Regions from separate parts of the Homo sapiens genome. Here regions 1, 2, 3, 4, 5 and 7 are each linked to region 6. The links are contacts of gene promoters, found by promoter capture Hi-C in blood cells and fetal thymus (Javierre and others, 2016). All regions are on one chromosome and are shown on one strand. Each heading gives the region's core, a stretch centred on a gene start or on the middle of the fragment in contact. The rest is flanking DNA. Distances are from core to core; before and after follow the strand shown. Region 1 has its middle 110 kb from the start of PTDSS1. Region 2 overlaps PTDSS1 (phosphatidylserine synthase 1). Region 3 has its middle 90 kb from the start of PTDSS1. Region 4 overlaps PTDSS1 (phosphatidylserine synthase 1). Region 5 has its middle 77 kb from the start of SDC2. Region 6 holds the start of TSPYL5 (TSPY like 5). Region 7 overlaps PTDSS1 (phosphatidylserine synthase 1).

What was found. Contacts are between HindIII fragments. The CHiCAGO score rates a contact against its expected background, and 5 or more counts as called.
Region 1: a contact is called between a fragment that was not itself captured here and the fragment with the promoter of TSPYL5 in region 6, in 1 of 17 cell types (neutrophils). The highest score is 8.1, in neutrophils.
Region 2: a contact is called between a fragment that was not itself captured here and the fragment with the promoter of TSPYL5 in region 6, in 1 of 17 cell types (neutrophils). The highest score is 5.1, in neutrophils.
Region 3: a contact is called between a fragment that was not itself captured here and the fragment with the promoter of TSPYL5 in region 6, in 1 of 17 cell types (neutrophils). The highest score is 7.3, in neutrophils.
Region 4: a fragment that was not itself captured here is called in contact with the fragment with the promoter of TSPYL5 in region 6 in 8 of 17 cell types (megakaryocytes, M0 macrophages, neutrophils and 5 more); the score reaches 9.4 in megakaryocytes.
Region 5: a contact is called between a fragment that was not itself captured here and the fragment with the promoter of TSPYL5 in region 6, in 3 of 17 cell types (monocytes, neutrophils and erythroblasts). The highest score is 8.7, in monocytes.
Region 7: a fragment that was not itself captured here is called in contact with the fragment with the promoter of TSPYL5 in region 6 in 1 of 17 cell types (neutrophils); the score reaches 5.0 in neutrophils.

The regions. Positions count from the first base shown.
Region 1 is chr8:96,368,099-96,371,581 of GRCh38, reverse strand. No RefSeq gene overlaps it. Among named protein-coding and RNA genes, the nearest start is that of PTDSS1, 110 kb to the right of the region's middle. The HindIII fragment of the contact is 2,426 bases long and covers 794-3,219 here.
Region 2 is chr8:96,291,452-96,294,658 of GRCh38, reverse strand. All of the region lies in intron 4 of PTDSS1 (phosphatidylserine synthase 1), which reads right to left. Among named protein-coding and RNA genes, the nearest start is that of PTDSS1, 31 kb to the right of the region's middle. The HindIII fragment of the contact is 3,426 bases long and covers 176-3,207 here.
Region 3 is chr8:96,350,277-96,353,831 of GRCh38, reverse strand. No RefSeq gene overlaps it. Among named protein-coding and RNA genes, the nearest start is that of PTDSS1, 90 kb to the right of the region's middle. The HindIII fragment of the contact is 386 bases long and covers 1,112-1,497 here.
Region 4 is chr8:96,332,721-96,335,874 of GRCh38, reverse strand. It overlaps PTDSS1 (phosphatidylserine synthase 1), which reads right to left. Exons shown (of 13, transcript NM_014754.3): 13 at 1-2,418. The coding sequence ends at 2,309. Among named protein-coding and RNA genes, the nearest start is that of PTDSS1, 72 kb to the right of the region's middle. The HindIII fragment of the contact is 3,661 bases long and covers 1-3,154 here.
Region 5 is chr8:96,415,140-96,418,685 of GRCh38, reverse strand. No RefSeq gene overlaps it. Among named protein-coding and RNA genes, the nearest start is that of SDC2, 77 kb to the left of the region's middle. The HindIII fragment of the contact is 5,596 bases long and covers 1-3,546 here.
Region 6 is chr8:97,276,262-97,279,778 of GRCh38, reverse strand. TSPYL5 (TSPY like 5) reads left to right here and starts at 1,851. Exons shown (of 1, transcript NM_033512.3): 1 at 1,851-3,517. The coding sequence starts at 1,935. The coding sequence ends at 3,188. The region is part of intron 2 of LOC101927066 (a long non-coding RNA gene); the gene reads left to right. RefSeq lists an enhancer at 2,313-2,814. The HindIII fragment of the contact is 4,352 bases long and covers 534-3,517 here.
Region 7 is chr8:96,314,856-96,317,934 of GRCh38, reverse strand. All of the region lies in intron 9 of PTDSS1 (phosphatidylserine synthase 1), which reads right to left. Among named protein-coding and RNA genes, the nearest start is that of PTDSS1, 54 kb to the right of the region's middle. The HindIII fragment of the contact is 2,965 bases long and covers 70-3,034 here.

The sequences.
Region 1 (3,483 bases), core at 757-3,256, 910 kb after region 6:
CAAAGGCAGTTTAATTCATGACCCCAAGGCTGTCACAATCCAGACTAAGAAGTGCCCTGAGAGCCTGGTGGGATCATCTTGGTGCACAGACCCAGTATCCAGGGGATCTGAGTGGCCAAGGAACACCCAGAACTCCTGCCTCCCATAAGTGCAAGGCTGAGCATAGCAAAGTATGAAGAGGGAAGGCTCTTCTAACACTGAAGTACGTAGGAGCAGACTTTTCAGTAAGAAGAAAAGTCCCAGAAATTCAGATTAGATTATAAACAAATTATAAAGCGATAAGCTGGCTGAAACAATAATATTCAAATTAGTTCAATTCAGCAAGTACATATGAGTGCTTCTGTGTGCCCATCCTGGGCTAGTCCACTTGAGGGAATGGACACAGGAGAAATGAACAGGGTTTAAAGGGGAGGTATTTCTTCAGGCACAAAGCTCTGCAGATGGCTGCCTCTCCACTGGGCACCCCATGACAATTCACACAAGATCTCTCCCAAGACCTCTCAAAGCAATTCTTTTAAGACCTCAGTCCCTGCCCCCAAGCAGCCAGGAGTCTGTTTCACTGGTATCAGATCAAGCAGACCCTTCCTGAAGCTTTTGTAGAGAAATGGAAGTGATTTGGTTAAAACAGGGAATTTCGGCTGGGTGCAGTGGCTCACACCTGTAATCCTAGCACTTTGGGAGACCCAGGCGGGCAGATTGTCTGGGCTCAGGAGTTTGAGACCAGCCTGGGCAACATAGCTAAACTCTGTCTGTACTAAAAATACAACAACAACAACAAAAAAGTAGCCAAGCTTGGTAGCATGTGCCTGTAATCCCAGCTACTTGGGTGGCTGAGACATGGGAATCACTTGTACCTGGGAGATGGAAGTTGCAGTGAGCCGAGATCATGTCACTGCACTCCAGCCTGGGCGATGGAGCGAGACTGTCTCCAAAAAACAAAACAAACAAACAAACAAACGAAACAGGGAATTTCAAAGATGAAAGCAAGAGCAAAGATGGAGAATGGGTTGGAGGTGGAAGAAACACAGAAGTAAGAAGTAAAGGCTAGTGAGGAGAGTATGAATACTTTAGGCTCTCTGAGTTGATGGCAGCAAGTAGAGCCAAGGGGCAGGGAGAATGAAGACATAGTCTCTACTGATTGGATGTAGAAGAAATGAAAAAGAAGAGTCTAAGATGACCTTCAGTAGGAGTGGTAGAAGGGTGAATGAGGAAAGTCAGTAGCTCAGAAGAGAAGCATTTGAAGAAGGAAGATAACAAGTTCAGTAATTTAAGACTCTATCTTTTCTTTCCTGAACTCTTCCTATAGTATCCCTGTTGGGTCCCCCTCTCCAGGATTTGTTCTCCAGTCTACCCTTTGCACTGGGTTTCTAAAAGGCAATCTTTACTGGATTATTCTCTGCATCCAGCCTCACAGTGGTTGCCACCACCTTGAGGTGAAAGGCCAAGGTCCAGAGCATGGCATACAAGCTCTTGGAGCTCTGCCTTTCCTATATCTTAGCCTTATATCCTGCCATTCTCCTTCTTGGGCTCAACATTCCTGCCATCCTGAAATATTTGCATTGAAAAAGAAAGCCAGTTTCATGTGTCAGTGCTCTTGTACTTGTTAACCTCACCGTGAAAATTTTTTCCTACCTTTCCTGGTTGAACTTCTCACCATCCTGTACCAGGTGGCTAAAAACCCAGCAAAGCACTCCCTAATGGTCCTCTCCACTCTCCCAAGGAAGGTTTGTTCCAGAAATGCAAGGTCTGATTCAATATATGAAAATTATTCAATGTAATCTTCCATATTAATGGCTAAAGGAGAAAAATCATGTGGTCTTGTCAACTGATACAGAAAAAGCATTTTAAAAAATCTAACATGTATTCATGATAAAAACTCTTAGAAAAAATGGATTAGAGGGAAACTTCCTCAACTTGATAAAGAGTGTCTACCAAAAGGCTCTAGCTAATATTGTTTTTAGTGGTGAAGGACTGAATGCTTTCTCCATAAGATCAAGAACAAGGCAACAATGTCTGCTCTCACCACTCTTATTCAACATAGTACAGGTAGTTCTGGCCAATTTCAAAAGGTACAAGAAGAAAAAAAAGCATGCAGATGAGAAAGGAAAAAATAAAACTGTCCCTATCTGCAGATGAAATGATTGTTTAGGTAGAAAATTCCATGAAATCTGCAAAACAACAACCTCCTAGAACTCATAAGTGAGTTCCTCAAGGTTGCAAGATGTAATACAAACATACAAAAGTCAATTTTATTTTGGCATCCATAACAGATGGAAGTTATAGTACTTGATACAGGAATTTGGAATCTTAGAAAATGGACCTTAGACCACCACAAGAGGGATCTCCTAATTCTCTCTCACCCCATCAGTCTTTCCTGAGAAGTCTAGCTATGCTGGAATACTACCAGCTGGGAAGGTAGTATATGGTGTCCATAACAGACACCAAAATAAAAAATAAATGCCATTTACAGTTGCTAAAAAAACCCAAGTATAAATCTAACAAAACATGTACAGGACTTCAATTGTACATGTTTTGTGGCAGAAAACTACAAAACATTGATGAAATAAACCAAAGAAGATCTAAATAAATGGAAAAACATAGTGTGTTTGTGGATTAGAAGATTCAATATAATAAAGAAGTCAATTATTTGCCAATTTACATAGAAGTTTAATGCAATTCCTATCAGAATCCCAGCAAGATTTTTGTAGATATAGACACGATTATTCTAAAATTTATATGAAAATGCAAAGGAACCAGAATAGCTAAAATAACTTTGTAAAAGAATAATAAAGTGGGAGGAATCAATCTACCTGATTTCAAGATTTATTATAGAGCTGTCGTATTTACAGAGTGATAGACACATAGATCAATGAAACAAATAGAGAACCTAGAAACAGACTCACAAAAATATGCCCAACCAAAAGGTACAAAAGCAATTCAGTGGAGGAAGGATAGCCTTTTCAATGAAGCTCAACTTAAATCTCATATATTTAAAGAATTAACTCAAAAATAGATCACAGGCTTAAAAGTTTTACACTATAAAACTTTTAGAAAACAAAACACAGGAGAAAATCATAGGTATCTAGGGCTAGGCAAAAAGTTCTTAGATTTGCCATCAAAAGTCTGACCCATAAAAGAAAATATTAATGGTTAGATTTCATCAAAATTTAAAACTCTTGCTGTGTAAAATGGCCCATTATGAGAGTGAAAAGACAAGCTTCAGAGAGCAAGAAAATATTTACAAACCACATATCTGACAAAGGGCTAGTAGCTAGATACATAAAAATCTCTCAAAACCTAACACTAAAAAATAAAACAAAAGCAATACAATCAGAAAATGTGAAAACGACATGAAGAAACACTTTACTGAAGAGGATATATGGATGGCAAATACGCATTTGAAAATATGTTCAACATCATTAGTCATTAGGAAATGTGAATTAAAATCACAATGAAATATCACTATGCAACAGAATGGCTAAA
Region 2 (3,207 bases), core at 639-3,138, 990 kb after region 6:
AATGATAACGAAAATACACCACGTAAAAATTGAACTTTAGAGGAAAATGTAAAGCCTTAAATAGTTATGCTAGAAAAAAGAAGAAAAGCACCCAACTTCAGTAATTAAAAGAGAACTCCCCTCCCCAAAAATATATCGGATACTACATAATTTAAATATTAAAAATTACAAAGCTTTTCAGAATGTTGGTTCCATTTCTAATATCTTTGTTTTTGATTATACGTATTTCTAAGTAATTTAATATCTTATCATATGACTGCATGACAATATGATAATATAACATTTACTGGGAATCTCTACATTTCACATCCTTTCTTCCCAAAATTAATTTGACAGGCAGTAGTAAGAGTTGGCAAATATTCACCCCCTATTATCAGCCAGCTGAAAAAAATTCCTATAAACTATAATAGTTTTAAATTCCAGAAATGATACTTTCTGAGAGCAAAAGAGCTTCCCTGTCTCTTCTGAAACCCACCACACATCAGATTTCCTTCTCAGATAAAATGCATTTCAACTTGCAAAGCTGAACAAACATTTTTAAGAATTCTATTTTTTGAGAAGCAGTATGATGTGAGATTATGCTGTGTAAATGGGAAATCTGGAGAAAAGAGGATAAAATTCAATAGGGTAAGTCAAGATAAGGCTTTAAAAGAAACAAACTGCCCTGCAATAAGATGAAAAGTTTCTTCCCGGACTCTGGAACAGCACGTTCTTGTCACAGAGAATCACAGGCTGACAGAGGGAAATGCCCTTAGCTGAAGCAGGTTGTATATTAGGTTAAGGAGCAGGGCCACGTCCAGTCAACCTCAAATGTCTCAACCACCCCACCCTCTTCTTTACTCTGGAATACACTGTGTAGGGTTAGATAAGGAAGGGGTAAGATCTGTTTTTAGAAGGCTGCTCTTAAAGTAATCACAGCTTGCAGATAACTCTGGAGGACTTTACACTCTATTAAGTAGCTCTATGCTTTGACATGCGGAAAGGCATTTTAAAAATCATAAAGACCAATCCGTCTATTTGCAGTATAGTTAGTAATGAACAGATTTGCCAATTATCCCCTCATAAGACCTGAGGTCCTTGTCCTGGAAGGGCCACAGGGCATTGCAGTTTAAAGCAGCCAGAGAGCTGCATGCAGGCAGAACCCTGGGAACCAGGAGGAACAGGCTTTAACTGAAGACAGTGTAGAGCTGAAGCCTGGAAAGGGGGTCAAGTGGACAGGTGCATGCCTGTGAGCAAAAGATGGGTAAAGACAGATTCTGCTGACTTCCCAACTGGTCCTAGGCTGATCTTGGCGGCCTTACCCTCTGCCTTGCTTGCTGGACACCTAACCAAATACCAAGTCCTATTCACTTTACCTCCCCAGGTTGTTCTTTTATGCATCTCGCTGCCACTATTATTTCTTGCTTAGACTTCCATAATAATAGCTTTTGAAAACTGTGGAATGTGTCAGGCATATAACAAAGTATAGATGATGCTATAATAAGCACCTAGGTATTCACATCTAGCTTACGACTACAGAGAGATCTTGAAAATCATAATCAGATCACGGAACGTGCATGCATGTGTGTAAGGGTGTCTGGGGCAGGAGGTGGGAAGAAAGGGGTTGGGTAGCATGCCCGTCCCAATGTAGAAGGATCTCCACTACTACACACGCCAGGTCTCCAGCCCAACTATCTCTTCACTCCTCTCTGGGGCAGTTGCTGACTTTGGAAGAAGAAAGAGATCCAACCTCTTTTGGGTCCTCTTTGGAAATTATTTGCTTACAGACAGCACAGGTTCTCATCAGCTCCCCCAGCCATGCAGCAATTTTTGTGGGTCAGGCCCTGCTTTGCAGAAGCAGCTTGTGGTTGTCTAATGGGCTAGGGGAAGACAGGCTTGCTTAATTCAGCCCAGGTCTAAAGCAATCTGCTCCACTGAGCTTTCACAGGAAGAAATCAGCTGAGATTTTGAACTCTTGTTTCTGTTTCCAAACTCAACTAGAAATGGAGGTATTTATTGATTGACCTCCTAAAACATCAACACAGGTCATGTAGCTCCTCTGCTTATAAACCTTCCATGGCCTTTTCATACACTTAGAATAACACCTAAACTCCTCATCCCAGCTGGCTCAGCCCTGGCAGCCTCCTAGCCTCAGGCAGGGCCCTCTGCCTCATGATCTGGTCCCAGCTCAGACTGGTCCCAGCTCCCCACACCCCCAATCAGGACCTCTACACAGACTGTACCATTTTTAACTATCGTGCTTCCTTGAATCTATGACACGTCTTTTTCACACTGTATTGTTTTGAGAATTAGGGTGACTATTTCAATATATTACAATGTATAGCACTTTAAATATAAGGTTTCTTTTCTTTTTTTTTTTTTTTTTTTTTGAGACAGCGTTGCCTAGGCTGGAGCGCAGTGGCACCATCTCGGCTCACTGCAACCTCCGCCTCCCGGGTTCAAATGATTCTCCTGTCTCAGCCTCCCGAGTAGCTGGGATTACAGGTGCGTGCCACCACGCCCAGCTAATTTTCATATTTTTAGTAGAGACAGGGTTTCACCATGTTGGTCTCAAACATGGTCTCAAACACCAGGCTGGTCTCAAACTCCTGACCTTATGATCTGCCCACCATGGCCTCCCAAAATGCTGTGATTACAGGCATGAGCCACCATGCTCAGCCCCAGGTTTCTTTTTTTCTCCTCCAAAAAGTCATACCTATAATTGATGGTGCATCTTAAAACTGATGTTGACCTCACAAAGCCATGACCAATCTTAACATTATAAAAAGCGAGACCACCAGACACTGTGTGCCTCCTAGTGTGATACGCAGCACCAGCTATGAAGCAGTCCCACTATAAAAACTGATCTGGAATCTAGAATCTCATCCAGCCCCTACACCTGAGTTCTACTTTATAGAAGATATAGGGGGACAAAAAGAACATGTTAAATGATGATACTGCAAATGCAGCTGCAAAATCCAGATGTGAAAAACCCTATAGAATAAGCAATGTGGTTTCTTTGACAAATAAATTTTCAGGACATGATGAGGGGAATTACAGATGAAAAGAGATTTAAAAGACATATCATATGCAATGTGTAAACCTTGTCTGGATCCTATTTTGAATAAATCAACTATACAGAACATTTACGAAGCGACTGCAGAAATGTCAACACTCACTGCGTACTGTTCACTGTTCAGTGGTTATGCCAAAAAAAAAAAAAAAAAG
Region 3 (3,555 bases), core at 55-2,554, 930 kb after region 6:
ACCAAAGGCCAAAGAGGACTTCTAAATAAGGCACACACAGATTACTAATGTTCGAAAACCACATAGGTTTTTGCAACAGACTCTCTTCCCAGTAGATTGGGTTTTAAAGCACATTTTAGAAACACCTCTCTTTTGGCTGCGGTGGCTCACTAACCATGAGTAAGCCCCAGCCCTGTGTTTTGGTGAGCTAAATACACCACCCTCTGGTAACCAGATTCTGTGGCTGGTAATCCCATTGCAGGAGGCCCCTTGCTACCCTTGGGTAGATGATTTTACCAGCTGTGGCCTTGATATGACATTATGCATGTGCCACAAGTTGAACCCAATTGAGAATGTTTTCTTTGAGTCAGCACATGCTTTCATACAGTGTCGAGCAGAGATTAAATGGGGTTAGAAAGGTGAAAGGAGTTGACACAGTACAGGGCACATGGAAGGTGCTCACTGCATGGTGGTTCTGTCTAGAAAACATTGAAAATTGACTTTTGTTACCTCTGAGGATCAGAACTGCTCCTCTGCACAGTAAAAACCCTGCACAGTTTTACTAAGGGGGGTGCTGGCTGCAAGAACCAGGCAGCCCTGCTTCCTGGCACTGACCACGCTGGGTAAACACGTCTCTGTCCAGGAAATTGGAAATCAGGTGAGAGATTCTACTTAATGGCCACTGCAGCTGGCTGGAATGTAGAGTAAGCCACTTTTCTCCTTGGGCAGAGAGAGAGCCAGTAGAGAAAGCCCGGCTCAGACAGGAAGAAGGATGAAGCAGAAGCACAGAGAAAACAGAAATGAGAGGCCGAATCCTCCTCCAAATCAGCACCAGGTCCCCTCAGTGCTGCTCCCACGTGTGGGTCTTCTTTAAAAACCAGCTTTATCAAGACATAATTCATGTACTGTGCAATTTACCCGTGTAAAGTGCACAATTCCACACCACATGCAAAAATCAACTCACAGTGGATTAAAGACTTAAATGTAAAACCGGAAACCATAAAACTCTTAGAGGAAAACAGGGAAAGAACTTCCAGCCATTGGACTTGGCGATGATTTCTTGGATATGACACAAAAACACAGGTAACAAAAACAAAAAGAGAAACATGGGATTATATCACACTAAAAAGCTTCTATATAACAGAGGAAGCAACCAACAGAGTGAAAAAGCAAACTACAGAATGGAAGGAAGTATTGGCAAATCATTTATCTGATAAGAAGTTAATATACAAAATATATAAAGAACTCACACAACTCAATAGCAAAACAAAAACAAAAACAAAAACAAATAACCCTATGTAAAAATGGGTAAAGGACTTGAATAGATATTTCACGAGAGAAGACATACAAATGAACAACAAGTATATGAAAAGGTGTTCAACATCACTAATCATCAGGGAAATGCAAATCAAAGTCATGAGCTAGCACCTCACATCTGTTAGAATGGCTATTATCAAAAAACTCCGAAAGATATCAGTCTGTGAGTGTAAAGGTGAGGGTGTGAAGAAAAGGGAAGCTTTGTACACTGTTGGTGGAAATGTAAATTGGTGCAAACACTATGGAAAACAGTATGGAATTTCCTTGAAAAGTTAACAATAGAATGACTGTATGATCCAGCAATCTCACTTCTGAGTATACATCCAAAGGAGTTGAAGTCAGGATTCTGAAGAGATATCTGTACTCTCATAATCACTGCAACATTACTCACAATAGCCAAGATATGGAATCAACCTAAGTGTCCATTAATGGATGAATGGATTAAAAATGTGGTACATACATACAGTAGGATATTAGTCAGACTTTAAAAAAGAGGGAAGTTCTCTCATTTGCAACAACATAGACCTGGAGGAAGTTATGCTAAATGAAATGAGCCAGATACAGAAAGACAAAGGGTGCACAACCCCACTTTTATGACAACTCTATAATAGTCAAACTCATAGAATCAGAGTAGTATAGTGGTTATCAGGGGCTGGGTGGGGAAGATTGGGGGGGTATTGTTCAAAGGGTACAAAGTTTCTGATATGCAAGATGCATAAATCTGGAGATCTACTGTACAACATAGAGCCAACAGTTACAATACTGTATTGTATAATTAAAAATTTCCTCAGAAGGTAGATCTTATGTTAAGTACTCTTGCCACAAAAGAAAAAAATTTAATTAAAATAAATAAATACATAAAGGAGGCAGAAGGCAACTTTTGGAGGTGATGGATAAGTTTATGGCTTTGATTGTGGTGATGGTTTCTTGAGTGTATTCTTATCCCCATTAAATACATACAACTTTTCGTATATCAGTCATACTTCAATACAGTGGTTTAAAAAATAAGGTATACAATTCAGTGGTTTTTACTATATTCACAGATATGTGTAACCATTACCACAGTCAATTTTAGAACATTTTTATCAGTTCAGAAAGGAACTCTTGTACTTTTTAGCTATCACTCCACCTCCACTGCCCCCTCCCTGTAGTCCTAGGCAACCACTAATCTACTTTTTTTTTTTTTTTTTTTTTGAGATAGGGTCTTGCTCTGTCACCCAGGCAGGAGTGCAGGAGGACAATCATGACTCACTGCAACCTCAATCTCCTAGGCTCAAGCCATCCTCCTGCCTCAGTCTCCTCAGTGGCTGAGACTTCAGGTGCATGCCACTATGCTGGGCTAATTTTTTTGGTTGTTTTTTTTTTTTTTTTTTGTAGAGACGGGGTCTTGCTATGTTGCCCAGGCTGGTAGTGAACTTCTGAGCTCAAGCAATCTTCCTGCCTCAGTCTCCCATTAGTACTGCCCACCACTAATCCACTTACTGTCTCTACAGGTTTTCCTCTTCTGGAGTTTCATATGAATGTAATCATATAACATGTGGCCTTTTGTGACTGACTTCTTTCAAGTGGCATAGTGTTTTTAAGGTTCATCCACATTGTGGCATGTCAGTACCTTATTCCTTTTTATGGACAAACAATATTTCATTGTATGGATGTACTACAATTTGTTTATATTTGTTTACCTATTCATTAACTGATGGACACTTGGGTTGCTTCCACCTTTTGGCTGTTGTGAATAATGCCGCTGAGGTTAATAATAATGAGCCTTGAGGATGTTACGATGAGAAAAATAAGTTAGTCACACAAAAAAGATAAGTGTGATTCTACTCATACGAGGTATCTAAAGTGGTTAAATTCATAGAAACAGAAAATAGAATGACAGTTGCTGGGAACGAGGAGGGGTGGCAAGTGGGGAGTTGTTTAATGGGTAAGAGTTTAGTTTCACAAGTTTTTTTTTTTTTTTTGAGATGGAGTCTCACTCTGTCGCCAAGGCTGAAGTGCAATGGTACCGTGTCAGCTCACTGCAACCTCCGTATCCTGAGTTCAAGCAATTCTCCTGCCTCAGCCTCCTGAGTAGCTGGGATTACAGGCGCCCACCACCACCCCTGGCTAGTTTTTAAAAATATTTTTAGTAGAGACGGGGTTTCACCATGTTGGTCAGGCTGGTCTCGAACTCCTGACCTCAGGTGATCCGCCCACCTCAGCCTCCCAAAGTGCTGGGATTACAGGTGTTAGCCACCACACCCAGCCTAGTTTCAC
Region 4 (3,154 bases), core at 500-2,999, 940 kb after region 6:
ATATTGAATGATGATTCTGAAACACGCATTCTATTTCCATCAATGTGAGGTTTATTTCCATAGAAACGGTGAAAAAAGTAGGCCAAACCCAGCAGTATGGCTTCTAAAAGGAATAGCAGCTGTGGTTCTGGCCAGCCATGGAAAGCACTGGTTTTGTAACTACTATAGTAAAGAGCTCTGACTGAAGGGAAATAGAAAGTTTCAACTCAAAGAAAGGGCATGGAAAGTATCTGAGAACTTTCCTGGCTGTTTCTTACAAAGCCATGGAGAAAAAATCATCTCCTGTGCACCCTGCTCTTCACAATGCCACAGTAAAGTCGAATTCACCACCTGCGAAACAGCTGCCTCCTGTAGGCTGGCCTCAGAGGAAGCACACATGCTCCATCAGTTGCAACAAGGCGAAAGTCAGAAGAGTGTGAAAGTGTCAGGCCCAGTGCTCCCGGAAAATGAACCCGGAAACACTCAGTGAGGCACCACCGGTGTGAGAAAGAAGAGACAGGTGTCTTCTCCAATGGGCACAAGTATGTCATGCTTAGAAAAGCAGAACACAGGATGAAACAAAACATATTTATTTGCAAAGAAAGATCATGTTTAAATTGTACCTGTGTTTAAAAATGGCCTCTTTGATGGGTTATAAAAGTGCAGGCAGGTTTTATGAAACACGCACTTTGCCTCTCTTCTATCCTTTTGTGGGAAGCAGGCAGATGCTGGCTGGAGGACATTTGAGAGCTCGGAGCTGAGGCTCATCACAGCCAAATCCCTCACTCACCAAGTGAGCGGAGCTGCCACTGACGCTTCTCCACTCCCGCAGAATCTACTATTGAGCACTGGGCCCCCTGAGGACAGGATGTGACCCTGGCTGGCATGATTCATTCAACCCGTTCATCTTGGAATTCTTTTGCAGAAAAAAAAAAAGTGACACTTCTATGGCTAAAGATTTCCTTAAAGAAGAAGAAACATCAGAACGAACCTTTGTGCTGTGTGAAATGAGGGAACAAAAGATTACTTTCAGTGAGTTGATATCTGTAAGCTAATCAACTGGGTACTGGCCTCTTGTTAGAGGAAAAAAAAGTCCAACTTGGAAACCATTACCACAGGAAAAAACAATGACTATGTTGTTCATTCCTGTTGGTCACTTGGGTAGTCTAAGAAGTAGGACATATATGTCTGTAAGCCCTTTAAAATACACATCTTTTCTTTTTTCTTCTCACTATGTAAAACACATATATATTATCCTAAAGTCACTTGAAAAACACAGACTGCTTACAATCAATAGAAGATACCAGTAAGATGCAAGAAAATGAGCATTTTACAGACAGACCTTTGATAGGCTTTAAAGTGAATCGTTTTTATTTAAAACAGGGATCCATCAGAGGTGGTGAACTATCAAGGTCAAGGTTCTAGAGCATGGCACAGATGAAAGGTAATACTCACCAGCACCTCACATGGGACTCAGTGACAATGTCAGCAACACACCATGGAAGGAGAACAAACCCGATGTAAAAGGCACCTAGCTGGGGAGAAGCTGTGGTGTTCACTGCCTCTCTAGCAGGTTTGCTTTTGTGCACTGTGGCTAAGTCTGGATGAATAATATTGGGAAGGGAATAATCGGAAGCGAGGCTCCTATGCAGGCAGCTACCCTCTCCTGATTGGTGTATACTCGCCATGTGGTAGGAGGTCTTACAGGAGACTGAGGTTACCAAACAGGAATACAACACCTCTCTCCCTTTTCTGCTCTAGAAGGAAGGGGAACCCTTCCCCCAGTATCAATTTCAGCAGCGGCTTCTAAAGGCTGTTAAAAAGCATCCTAACTTAAAAACAAATAACAACAGTAACCAAATAAAAGACAGAAAAGTGGCCTGAACTTAAATCAATCAATGGAAAGGTAGATTCATAAAAATAAAATAAAAACTGGTGACCAGTCCATTAACCATGGGGTTAATGCCTCGTCTGAAGGAAGATGTTTACGCTGCATCCACGATCCAGCAGGCGCGGAGCTGCTCTTGGCAACTGTGAATGAATAGCTACCGTTTCCCTTCAACACACCGCGCTGCCACCGGTGACCGCATGTCAAGTGCTGAAGTTAGAAGAGACCCCACGTTGGCAAAGGCCCCCCAGGCGATGATCTGCCTGACGCGGCCAGGTCTGTGGGAAACAAGACTTACGATCTCAAATAATGACCCCCAAGTGCCCTCGCCTCTTCCTGCTTGCCCTGTGCGCCTCGACCTCCTCACGGGGAGTTCCAAATGAGTTCCATTTCCCTCTCAGTTCTAGGCACTCTGGAACATCTTTGATTAACCAGGGTTTTTCATTTCTTTCCAACGCCATTGGTGACTTTTGACTTGGAATGCCGATTCCTTCTCCTGGAAGAATGGCTTTCGTTGTTGCCTGCATGCTTGGGTGGGCTGTCTTCAGAACCTGGCCAAAGGAATCAGAGCACACCGTCACCCTGGGCTCTGGAGATTGGTGACTGTCCCTTTCCAGACCGCCCTAGGCTTGCCGGGGAACAGGTTCTTCCCTGATACGTGCACTCCCCCTAGTGGCCTCATTCATAAATGAAGGCGAGGCTCTCAAACACAGAACTAGTACTGAAGGAGCACACGCGGTGGCGCGGGGTTCAACGCAATAGCGCCCCAAAGTCTGGGTGGTTCCTGAAGCGTGTGTACATCTGTCCTGTGTATGATGGACATGGTCATGATGGTGAGGACCAGAAGTGAGAGCACAAGTGAAACGGAAGCCCAAACGAGGGGCAATTAAAACACACACCACGCGGTGCCCATCCTGCCCTGCAACCAAGGGTTTCCATCCCTTCACCTGCTCCACACCACCTTCTAAACCCGACATCAGGAAAGACTCTTGACACTATAAAATCAGAGCTATTTCACACCCTCTACATTTGATCTGGAGAACATCTTTACAATTCAGGCCCCTGCTGCCCACGATGGAGGGCACTGGGCAGCCTCTGCCCTCCAGCTGAGCCTTTGTTCAGCCCCTGCCTGGCCTAGCGGCCAAGCCAAAGGGTTCTCTGCCCCAGGGCTCTGATCCAGCCCCATAGGAAATCTCCACCTGAGGCTGCCAACAAAAAAAAAGTTACCAGAGTTACAGTCTCCACTGTAAGGAGCATTTGACTTAGACTAAGAGATTCTTTCCCCAC
Region 5 (3,546 bases), core at 604-3,103, 860 kb after region 6:
GGATTTGAACCAAAGTCAGTTTGTCTTTAAAAAAACAAAAAGGTAGCAAGTTCTTTCTACTATACCATAATGACTTCTAGAACTTTTCTTTCTCCCTTTTCGTTTGTTTGTTTGTGTTTTTTTTTGAGATGAAGTTTCACTCTTGTTGCCCAGGCTAGAGTGCAATGGCTCGATCTTGGCTCACTGCAACCTCCACCTCCCAGGTTCAAGCAATTTCCCTGCCTCAGCCTCCCGAGTAGCTGGGATTACAGGCATGCACCACCACGCCCAGCTAATTTGTATTTTTAATAGAGATAGGGTTTCTCCATGTTGGGCAGGCTGGTCTCAAACTCCTGACCTCAGGTGATTCACCTGCCTCAGCCTCCCAAAGTGCTGGGATTACAGGTGTGAGCCACTGCACCCGGCCTAGAACTTTTATTTGGTACTAGTAATACTAGTAGATTGCTTCCCTAAAACAAGCAGGGAAAGGAAGCAAAAAGCCCAGAGAAGCGCCCCCACCACCCTCCACCCCCTACCCCCATTAAAGTACAGAGTGAAGAGAGGCAGGGACTGGGGCTGTACATTTTGGACCCTACAGACTGGTCCTATCCCTGGCCTTGCTGACATCTGTAGGTGATCAAGGTGAAAGCAGAAGACCCTTCTGTCTCCTCATTCTCTCAGCTGCTGAGCAGCCAAATATGGGGAGCTGCGTGAATGTTTATTTCGCAGGAAGTTCTGCTGCTCCATCATGATGTCTCCTGCTTATATTTCTGTAATTAAATGTCATCTCATTGTGCATGTACTTGTTGTGCTTAAGCCCCAAGGCTGTTTTAGTAAAGGGTACAATTTTGTAAATCAAATGGAGAAAAATAAACGAAACCACCTGTTCTGTGAGACAGTGTGCTGCCAAGCGTGGAGCTCTCCTGTCCCTCCCTGCCTCCTCCAGAGTCCAGGAGGGGAGGGCAAGAGAAGCCCCCAGGATGGGGGGTGAGGAGTGTAACCACTTCAGTGAGGGGTACCTTGTCCCTATTCAAAAGTAACTCTTTAGTAGGGGGCTCACCACTGCAGGGCCTTGGCTTTCAGTGGGCCAAGAACAGCTGTTGTGACAGGCGGGGACAGCCACTCAGGACATGAGGGAAGTCAGGCTGCAGAAGGTGGACAGCCCAAGAAGTCCCTTAGGCTCACATATGGGAAAGCAAAACTTATGATTGAATAATTCCAGCCTTTGCCTCGCCCATTCTCACCTTCTGTTAAACAAAAAGCTGTCTTTTCCCTCTCAGGGTCTCTCCTTCCTCCCCCATATGGAGAACTCCGTGTTTGCCAGCCTGTCTCCTGGGATTTCAAGATGCGGCATAAGAGTAGGTACAGAGAGACAGGACAAGAAACATAGGAAGGAAGAGAGAGGGAAACTAAACCGACTGGCTTGTGGGCTGGGCTTTGGGGAGCATTCTTTGTAGAGTTGAGAGGGAGATACAAAAGCAGTCTTAGGTTGGGAGAGAAATGGATTTGTTTCTCCTCTAAATAATTTATCGAGGAGAAATTCACATAACATAAAGTTAACCAGCTCTACGGGAACAATTCAGTGGCATTTGGCATATTCACAATGTTGCGCAACCAACCACCTCTGTCTCATTCCAAAATGCTTCCATCGCTCCAGGTAAGGGTATTTTAAGGTGTGTTGATGTGGATTATGCATTTGATCCCTTAATGTTTGTCAAGGGACGGAAGTGAAGATTGGAGTATATTTTTAATAACTGTTGACTTGTAGACTTTAACCTAGCAAAACTGGGTCAGGTGGACCCAAGGGGTTATTTGGGTTCTGTACAGCCATGGCCCCCAGGGCAGGAGACCTGTAGGAGTGCCTCACCCACCACCACATTAGGCTCTGTGCTCCCAGGTTTCCTACAGTGACTTTGGTACCTTGGTATTCTTAATGACCTGATCTTACCAGGTTACATGTTGGTGGGTGGGACGCACTCTGTGATATATCCTGCACCTATATGCTCTAAGACTGAGAGTCTGACCTCAGTATCCTCCAAGAGAGGACCCCACCAGCAGCCTGGTGTGAGCTTTGGGTTACCTCAACCCCTGAAGCAAGCTGAACTACTCATTCTTCTCCAAACATTCCCTGAAGCCTCCCACCTTTGTCCTTTCTGGTGTCTACACCAGCTTTCCCCCAGTTCTTTACTCCCAAATAACCAGATGCTAACAGTTTTTAAATTTTCTTATTGCTCATATAATATCTGATATGTGATTATGCATGCATGCTTAAGTACATGTACTTTCTCTCTCTCTCTCTCTCTCTCTCTCTCTCTCTACATATTTGAGTTTTTTGTTGGGTTCATTGCTTGCTTTGGAAAAATTGGATCATGTATTCTCTGCATCTTCTATCTCTCATTCAAAAATATCTCATAGAAGTTCCTCTCAGTCCCCTGGTATGTTTCAGATTCATTATTTGTGTTGGCAGCATTGTAATCCATAATGAGGCTCCTTCATAATTTATCCAACCCTTTCTCTATTGATGGATATTTCCTGTTTTAAGTTTCTGTCCCTCTAAACAATGAAGCAAGATTGTTGTACAATATATATCTTTATATACCAATGCTTTTACTTCTATTGAATGGATTCCAGGGTTGAAAGTCATGTGTATTTTAAAATTTAGTGTATATTGCTTTCAAAAAGGCTGAAACATATTTTCGGCAGCAAAATATGGAGTACTTTTTACCCTCATCCCTAGTAGCAACCGTTGCTACCCCTCGTTTTAATTTTTTTGTAGTCTTATAGTCATGAAGCCATATTCCATTGTAAACTTAATTTGTAGTTTGCTGACTCCTGATGAGCATGAGCATCTTTTTCAACTGTTTATTTGGCAGAGGGATTTGCTTTTTCTGTGTATGTTGTACTTCAATACAAAACTTTCTTAGAATTTAAAAATCTGCTGGGTTTATGATTGGGATTGCATTACGTTTTTAATTTTTTGGAGAATAAATTTTTTATGAGATTAACTCCTCTCAACAAATTGCATAGTATTAAAATGTATCCCTATTTTGTTTATGTTTTTTCCCCATAGGATTGTTTTTCACATAGTCCTGTACCTCTCTTTTATATTTATCCCTCAATGTTTTATAGATTTTAGCTGGGCACAGTGGCTCACGCCTGTCATCCCAGCACTTTGGGAGGCCAAGGTGGGCGCATCACTTGAGGTCAGGAGTTTGAGGCCAGCCTGGCCAACATGGTGAAACCCCATCTCTACCCAAAATACAAAGATTAGCGGGGCATGGTGGCAGGTGACTGTAGTACCTGCTACTCAGGAGGCTGAGGTAGGAGAATCACTTGAACCCGGGAGGTGAAGGTTGCAGTGAGCTGTGATTGTGCCACTGCACTCCAGCCTGGGGGACAAGAGCGAAACTCCGTCTAAAAACAAACAAACAAAAACAAAAAAAATTTTATAGATTTTTATCACTAAAATTAAATATTTTTCTCATATATATTTCTTGATGAATATGCTATAGCAGATAAATGATTAATTTAATATGCATTTTGGTGAACCTTGCCACCTTACTGAAG
Region 6 (3,517 bases), core at 602-3,101:
GTATAGTGTGTTGGAATAAAGAAAAAGTACCATAGGATAAAGGGATGGGGTGGGTGGCAATTCTAAATAGGATGGTCATTGAGAAGGTGACATTTAAGCAAAGTGTGAAGGCAGCTGGCCAAGGCCACCAACCACATTGGGAAAGAGCATTTAAGGTAGAAGGAAGAGCCAGTGCAAAGGCTCTGAGGCAGGAGTTTACCTAGTGAGTTTAAGAACAGCAAGGAAGCCAGTGTAGCTAGAGGTGGGAGAGAGGAGAGAGAAGATGAGGTCAGAGAGGTAACTCATGTAGTGGCAGATAGAAGACTTGCCAGATCATACAGGGCCTTGCAGGCTATTCTAGAGCTTTTGAGAAAATGAGGAATCACTTGTATTAGGCCGGCTTAAAATAGGGCCATCTGTATAAAAATAATTCCTCTTTAAATTGTTTCCTTAAACTTAGGGGTGTATACAAATCACCCAGGATCTTGTTAAAATTCAAATTCTGACTTAGTAGGTCTGGGGAAAGGCCTGAGATTCTGCATCTTTAACAAGCTTTCAGGTGATATCAGGCTGCTGGTCCACAACCACACTTTGAGTAATGAGGTCCCGGGGCTTTTGGGCTTATCTCTCCACTAGCTGGTTACAAGGGCCTTTTTGTTCCCTTTGAGCCTGAAAAGACCACCTCAAAAGGTTTTTCTTTATATTTTTACATTAGCCACAGGTCCCCTCACTGTTCATGGTCCTATTACCTCACTAGTAAGAGCGTGGTCCAGGGCTGCCTCCGGGACTGTGGGGGAGGTTGTCCGGCTGTTTCCATGCACAGTGTAAGAAGTTTCTAGGGCTTCTGCAGTGCCACGTGGAGGCTCTGCTTCTGAACCTCAATCTGCTCCCTGAATAATAATTTCACCTCTCACCACATTCTTGTCTTACTCCAATTACAGGAGCTCTAATACAGGTCTTCACTTCTGGTCCTATACCTAGAGTGATAGTCCAGATCTGTAAACTGAGGCAGCTGGGGGACTCGGGTGATGTTCCCAGGCAGAAGAGGTGGTCAGGTGGTCCACGGAAGCCTGTTTGTTAAGGAGCAAGGCTGATTTCTTAAGAGCCAGCCCAGTAATTGACAGTGGAACAAGTCTGGAAGGACTTGCCATTTCCAAATATAAGGCATAGGATACGGAGTCCCATGGGCTTGAGTTTGAATTGTGCTTCCATCCCTTACTGTGTAACCTGGGGAATGTGCCCGGGTGTCTCTGAGATGCAGTTTTCTTATCTCGAAAATGGGAATGATATCAACACCTCCTTTGTAAATTGAGATAATGCATTTAAAGCACCTAGTAAAGTGCCTGGCACAAATGATACAAAATACTAGTTGCCATTATTTTTATAATTTCTACTATCATCTTACTGCGTACCAAATCGCTTTGACGCCCGGCATTATAGCATCCACCTTTACGTTCTCTGGAGTTAAGGTACCAGAGCAAATCCCTCAGCAAAGGTGTTCAAAGAGAGACACACACGCCCGAGCACTTTCTTCATGACAGATGCCACAAGAGATAACTGGAGGAGCTGAAGATGTTTAGTTTAGAAAACAGGTGATGGGGGACAGGTGGTGATGGCTCTTAGCGTTGCCTTGTTCAACGAGACCCTGAGAGCACGATGAGCCCGCGCGGAAGAGATGAAATGGCAGCACCCCCGCGAGCGCATATCAGAGAAACTCGCCGAGACCTAAAGCGAGTCCGCGCGAGATGGGGGTGGGAGCGCCCGCGGGGGTCGTCTCCTGCGCAGCCGCAGCGGCGGCGCCAATCACCGGGCGCATCACGTCCTCTCGCGACGGTACAGTTGTACGTTCGTGACGTCGGCGGTTGCCGTGGAGAGACCCGCTCGGTCCCGACCGAGAGCTGGCGTCAGGAGCCGCAGGGTCACAGCGTGTCTTTGAAGCTGCCTCCGCCGCCACCATGAGCGGCCGAAGTCGGGGTCGAAAGTCCTCCCGCGCCAAAAACCGGGGCAAAGGCCGCGCCAAAGCCCGAGTCCGCCCTGCTCCGGACGACGCCCCGCGCGACCCGGACCCTTCACAGTACCAGAGTCTCGGGGAAGACACCCAGGCGGCACAGGTGCAGGCTGGCGCGGGGTGGGGTGGCCTGGAAGCCGCTGCGTCCGCGCAGCTCCTCCGGCTCGGGGAGGAGGCCGCCTGCCGGCTCCCCCTGGACTGTGGCCTCGCGCTGCGGGCCCGAGCTGCGGGGGACCACGGGCAGGCCGCGGCCAGGCCCGGCCCGGGGAAGGCCGCATCTCTCTCGGAGCGCCTGGCCGCAGACACTGTCTTCGTGGGAACAGCGGGAACCGTGGGAAGGCCGAAAAATGCCCCCCGCGTTGGAAACCGGCGTGGCCCTGCCGGGAAGAAGGCCCCAGAAACCTGTAGCACCGCGGGGAGGGGGCCTCAGGTCATAGCTGGTGGGAGGCAGAAGAAAGGGGCGGCAGGGGAGAATACCTCGGTGTCAGCTGGGGAGGAAAAGAAGGAAGAGAGGGATGCAGGGTCGGGGCCCCCAGCGACGGAAGGCAGCATGGATACGCTGGAGAACGTGCAGCTGAAGCTGGAGAACATGAACGCCCAGGCGGACAGGGCCTACCTTCGGCTCTCCAGGAAGTTTGGGCAGTTGCGACTGCAGCACTTGGAGCGCAGGAACCACCTCATCCAAAATATCCCGGGCTTCTGGGGGCAAGCATTTCAGAACCATCCCCAGCTAGCATCCTTTCTGAATAGCCAAGAGAAAGAGGTACTGAGCTACTTAAACAGCTTGGAAGTGGAAGAGCTCGGCCTTGCCAGATTGGGCTACAAAATCAAGTTCTACTTCGATCGCAACCCGTATTTCCAAAATAAGGTGCTCATCAAGGAATATGGGTGTGGTCCTTCTGGCCAGGTGGTGTCTCGTTCTACTCCAATCCAGTGGCTCCCAGGGCATGATCTCCAGTCCCTAAGCCAGGGAAACCCAGAAAACAACCGTAGTTTCTTTGGGTGGTTTTCAAACCACAGCTCCATTGAGTCTGACAAGATTGTGGAGATAATCAACGAAGAATTGTGGCCCAATCCCTTGCAGTTCTACCTTTTGAGTGAAGGGGCTCGTGTAGAGAAAGGAAAGGAAAAAGAAGGCAGGCAAGGTCCAGGAAAGCAGCCAATGGAGACTACTCAGCCTGGGGTGAGCCAATCCAACTGATCCTGCACAAGTCTCCCTGCTACCTCCTGCTGGGCTGCTCCTGGTTGACTACATATTTGGCTCTCTGCCTTCTCTTCATGTTGGCCTCTGTGTACTATAGACCCTTTGGACTTTAGTTACAAGAATATGGCATTTATGATCATGTTCTTTTGCCTCCCATAGCCTCTTGCTTTTCTACGTTAGTGTCACATGTTATGTGATCGCACCCGGACTGTTCATATGTTAAGCACACATACTTTAGATGTGTGCTCCCTGTTATCTACATTGCCTGGACCTTGTTCTTGGCTCTGGCCTTTCCTACTTGTCTTTAACATGGACACTCATGAGTC
Region 7 (3,079 bases), core at 303-2,802, 960 kb after region 6:
ATACGCATGCGTGTACACACACACACACACACACACACACACACACACACACACACTGAAACAAAAGCTTCATAAGACAATTTGCATCTTTATTCTGATATTTTTCTATTCTGTTTCATTTTAAGAAAATACTGGCCAGAACCCAATCACTGGCTTCATAATGACCTAAAGTTTTTTCTGTTTTTTTGTTTTAATTTTTTGAGACCGGCCCTGACTCCATTGCCCAGGCTGGAATGCAGTGGCACAATCTTGGCTCATGGCAACCTCCACTTCCCAGGCTCAAGCAATTCTTCTACCTCAGCCTCCCGAGTAGCCGGGACTACAGGCTCACGGCACTACGCCCAGCTAATTTTTGTATTTTTTGTAGAGACGGGGTTTTACCGTGTTACCCTGATTGGTCTCGAACTCCTGAGCTCAAGTGATCCACCCACCTCAGCTTCCCAAAGTGCTAGGATTACAGGTATGAGCCACTGCACCTGGTCAACCTGAAGTTTTTCTGAAGACCGTGCTTTTGAGTTAGCAACTTAAGGATATGATTTGTGCCAATGTGCTGAGGAGTCTTAGCTAAGCCATTGTCCGTGTGTGTGGGCACATCTCATGAGAAGGTGGCTAGGAGGAGGTGAGGGGGCCGGCTATGGGATTACATAAGTGTGGAGAGTCCCAGACTGAGGCCTGGGCATGGGAAAGGCACAAGGAAGGGCCAGGAATCAGGGGAAAGGGCTGAGTTGAGGTCAGGGTAACATGGACCTGGAAGGCCACCCGTAGGCTTGGCTTTTAGTCTGAGGGGATCCTAGAGGGTCTAGAGCAGAGGGTTTAATACAGTCTTCTCTCTCTCTGTCTCTCTCTCTCTCCATATATATATACACACACACACACATATATATATACACACATATATATAGACACATATATATATACACATACATATATATATATATATTTAGACGGAGTCTCACTCTGTCACCCAGGCTAGAGTGCAGTGGTGCAATCTCAGCTCACTGCAACCTCTACCTCCTGGGTTCAAGTGATTCTCCTGCCTCAGCCTACTGAGTAGCTGGGACTACAGGCGTGTGCCACCACACCTGGCTAATTTTTTGTATTTTTAGTAGAGATGGAGTTTCACCATGTTGGCCAGGATGGTCTTGACCTCCTGACCTCGTGATCCGCCCACCTTGGCCTCCCAAAGTGCTTGGGATTACAGGAGTGAGCCACTTCGCCTGGCCAGTTTGCTTAATGTTTTTTTAAAATTTTTTTCAGCTTTTATTTTACATACAGGGGGTACATGTGTAGGAATGCTACATGGGTATATTGGACCCAGGTAGTGAGCGTAGCACCCAGCAAGTAGTTTTCCCACCCATGCCCCGCTTCCTCCCTCCCTAGTAGTCAGCAGTGTCTATTACTCTGATGTTTATGTCCATGTGTACTCAATGTTTAGCTCCCACTTTTAAGTGAGCATATGCGGTTTTTGGTTTTCTTTTCCTGCTTAGGATTATGGCCTCCAGCTGCACCCATGTTGCTACAAAGGACATGATCCCATTCTTTTTTATGGCTGTGTATTATTCCATGGTGTCTATGTACCACATTTGCTTTATCCAGTCCACCACTGATGGGCACTAGGTGGATTCCATGTCTTTGCTATTGTGAACAGCATGGTGATGAACATTCGAGAACCTTCTGCTGGCTGAACAGAACTCTGTGAGAAGACAAGAGCAGAAGCAGGGAGGCTACTGTACTCATCCAGACATGGGGACCCGGGTCAGGGCTGTGGAGATGGTGAGAAGTGGTAGGAACCCAACGATCACATGGGCTCCTTTAACCACCAGCCATCGCCCCCACCATTACCTCTGGCCCACTGGAGGGAGTTCCAATCAACAGCACCCTTCCAGAAGGCTGACATTACTTTTCTACCAAGACTCAAAGAGTGGCTAGTTTAGGGCTGAGGCTGGAGGCTTCAGCACAGCGGGAGCCTGTATTAAGCCTGCCAGTGTGAGAACACATACCTCCTCCTACTTCCTCACCCCCAGGGGTGCTGGGGTTTCCTCCGCACAGCTCAGCAATAGGTCCCTTTACTCAGTTCAATTTAAATCTCTCTGATCTTTCCCAGGCTAAGCTAGGTGGACAAATTGTGGCTTAATGGAATTCAGTCAGGGCCTCCACTCCCTTTGATGCCATCCACCATCCTGTATCTTGGTTTAGCAGGGTTAAAAGGCAAATAAACATTTGGGCAGCCTGAGGTGCTTCTGCTGGGAGCAGGCACTAGAGATTCCTGACCTAGGGCTGGTTACTGGTGCACATACTCCCAGCACCCCCGACTTGTGGAGCCAGTTCCACAATGTGGGAAAAAAGATGATGTTAATGTAGAGCCCAGAGTCAGGAGCTCTTCGGTGAGTTGAGTGGAACAGGCATGGTGGCAGGGTTGTTGTAGGAATCTGGGGCATGAAAGCTCTAGGCTCGTGTGTGTGAGCTGGGTGTATGAGCCAAACTTGAGAAGCAGAAGAAGAGATTTTGGCTTGCCAACAAGCCTGCACGTGGATTCTGAGGATGCCACAGGAATGCCATGGACATGGAGGCCGGGTACCTGGCTGCTGCATCCCACACGCACTGCTCCATGGCTGCACAAGCAATCCCTGGATGGCTGAGAGTGTGGGAGACCCCCTCTCCTGGCAGCCAGGGCCCAGCCTCCAATAGTGGAAATGAGATGTGTATCCATGTTAACTCAATGACCACACAATCACACAGGATGCCAGGAAGGGTCCTCCAAGTTCAGGAGTGAGCTTCTAGTTCTGATTAGGGTGGGCAAAGACACCTTTTTGGAGGAAGCAAGAGCTAAGTGTGGCATAAACAATAGATACAATTCCTATTGTGCTCCTGTCAACTTTCTAACTTCCAAAGAATCCCCGGCACAAGGAGGGAAGGGGAGAAGCGGGTCTTGGATGGCAAACTCAGAACTGTTCTGCTTACTCGTTTAGATACTTAGTAGGATTTGGGGCAAGATGCCATTTGAAGAAAGGGGATCGGCTGCTAAAAAAAAGCTTTGTAGGCCAGGCGTGGTGGCTCACGCCTGTAATCCCAGCACTTT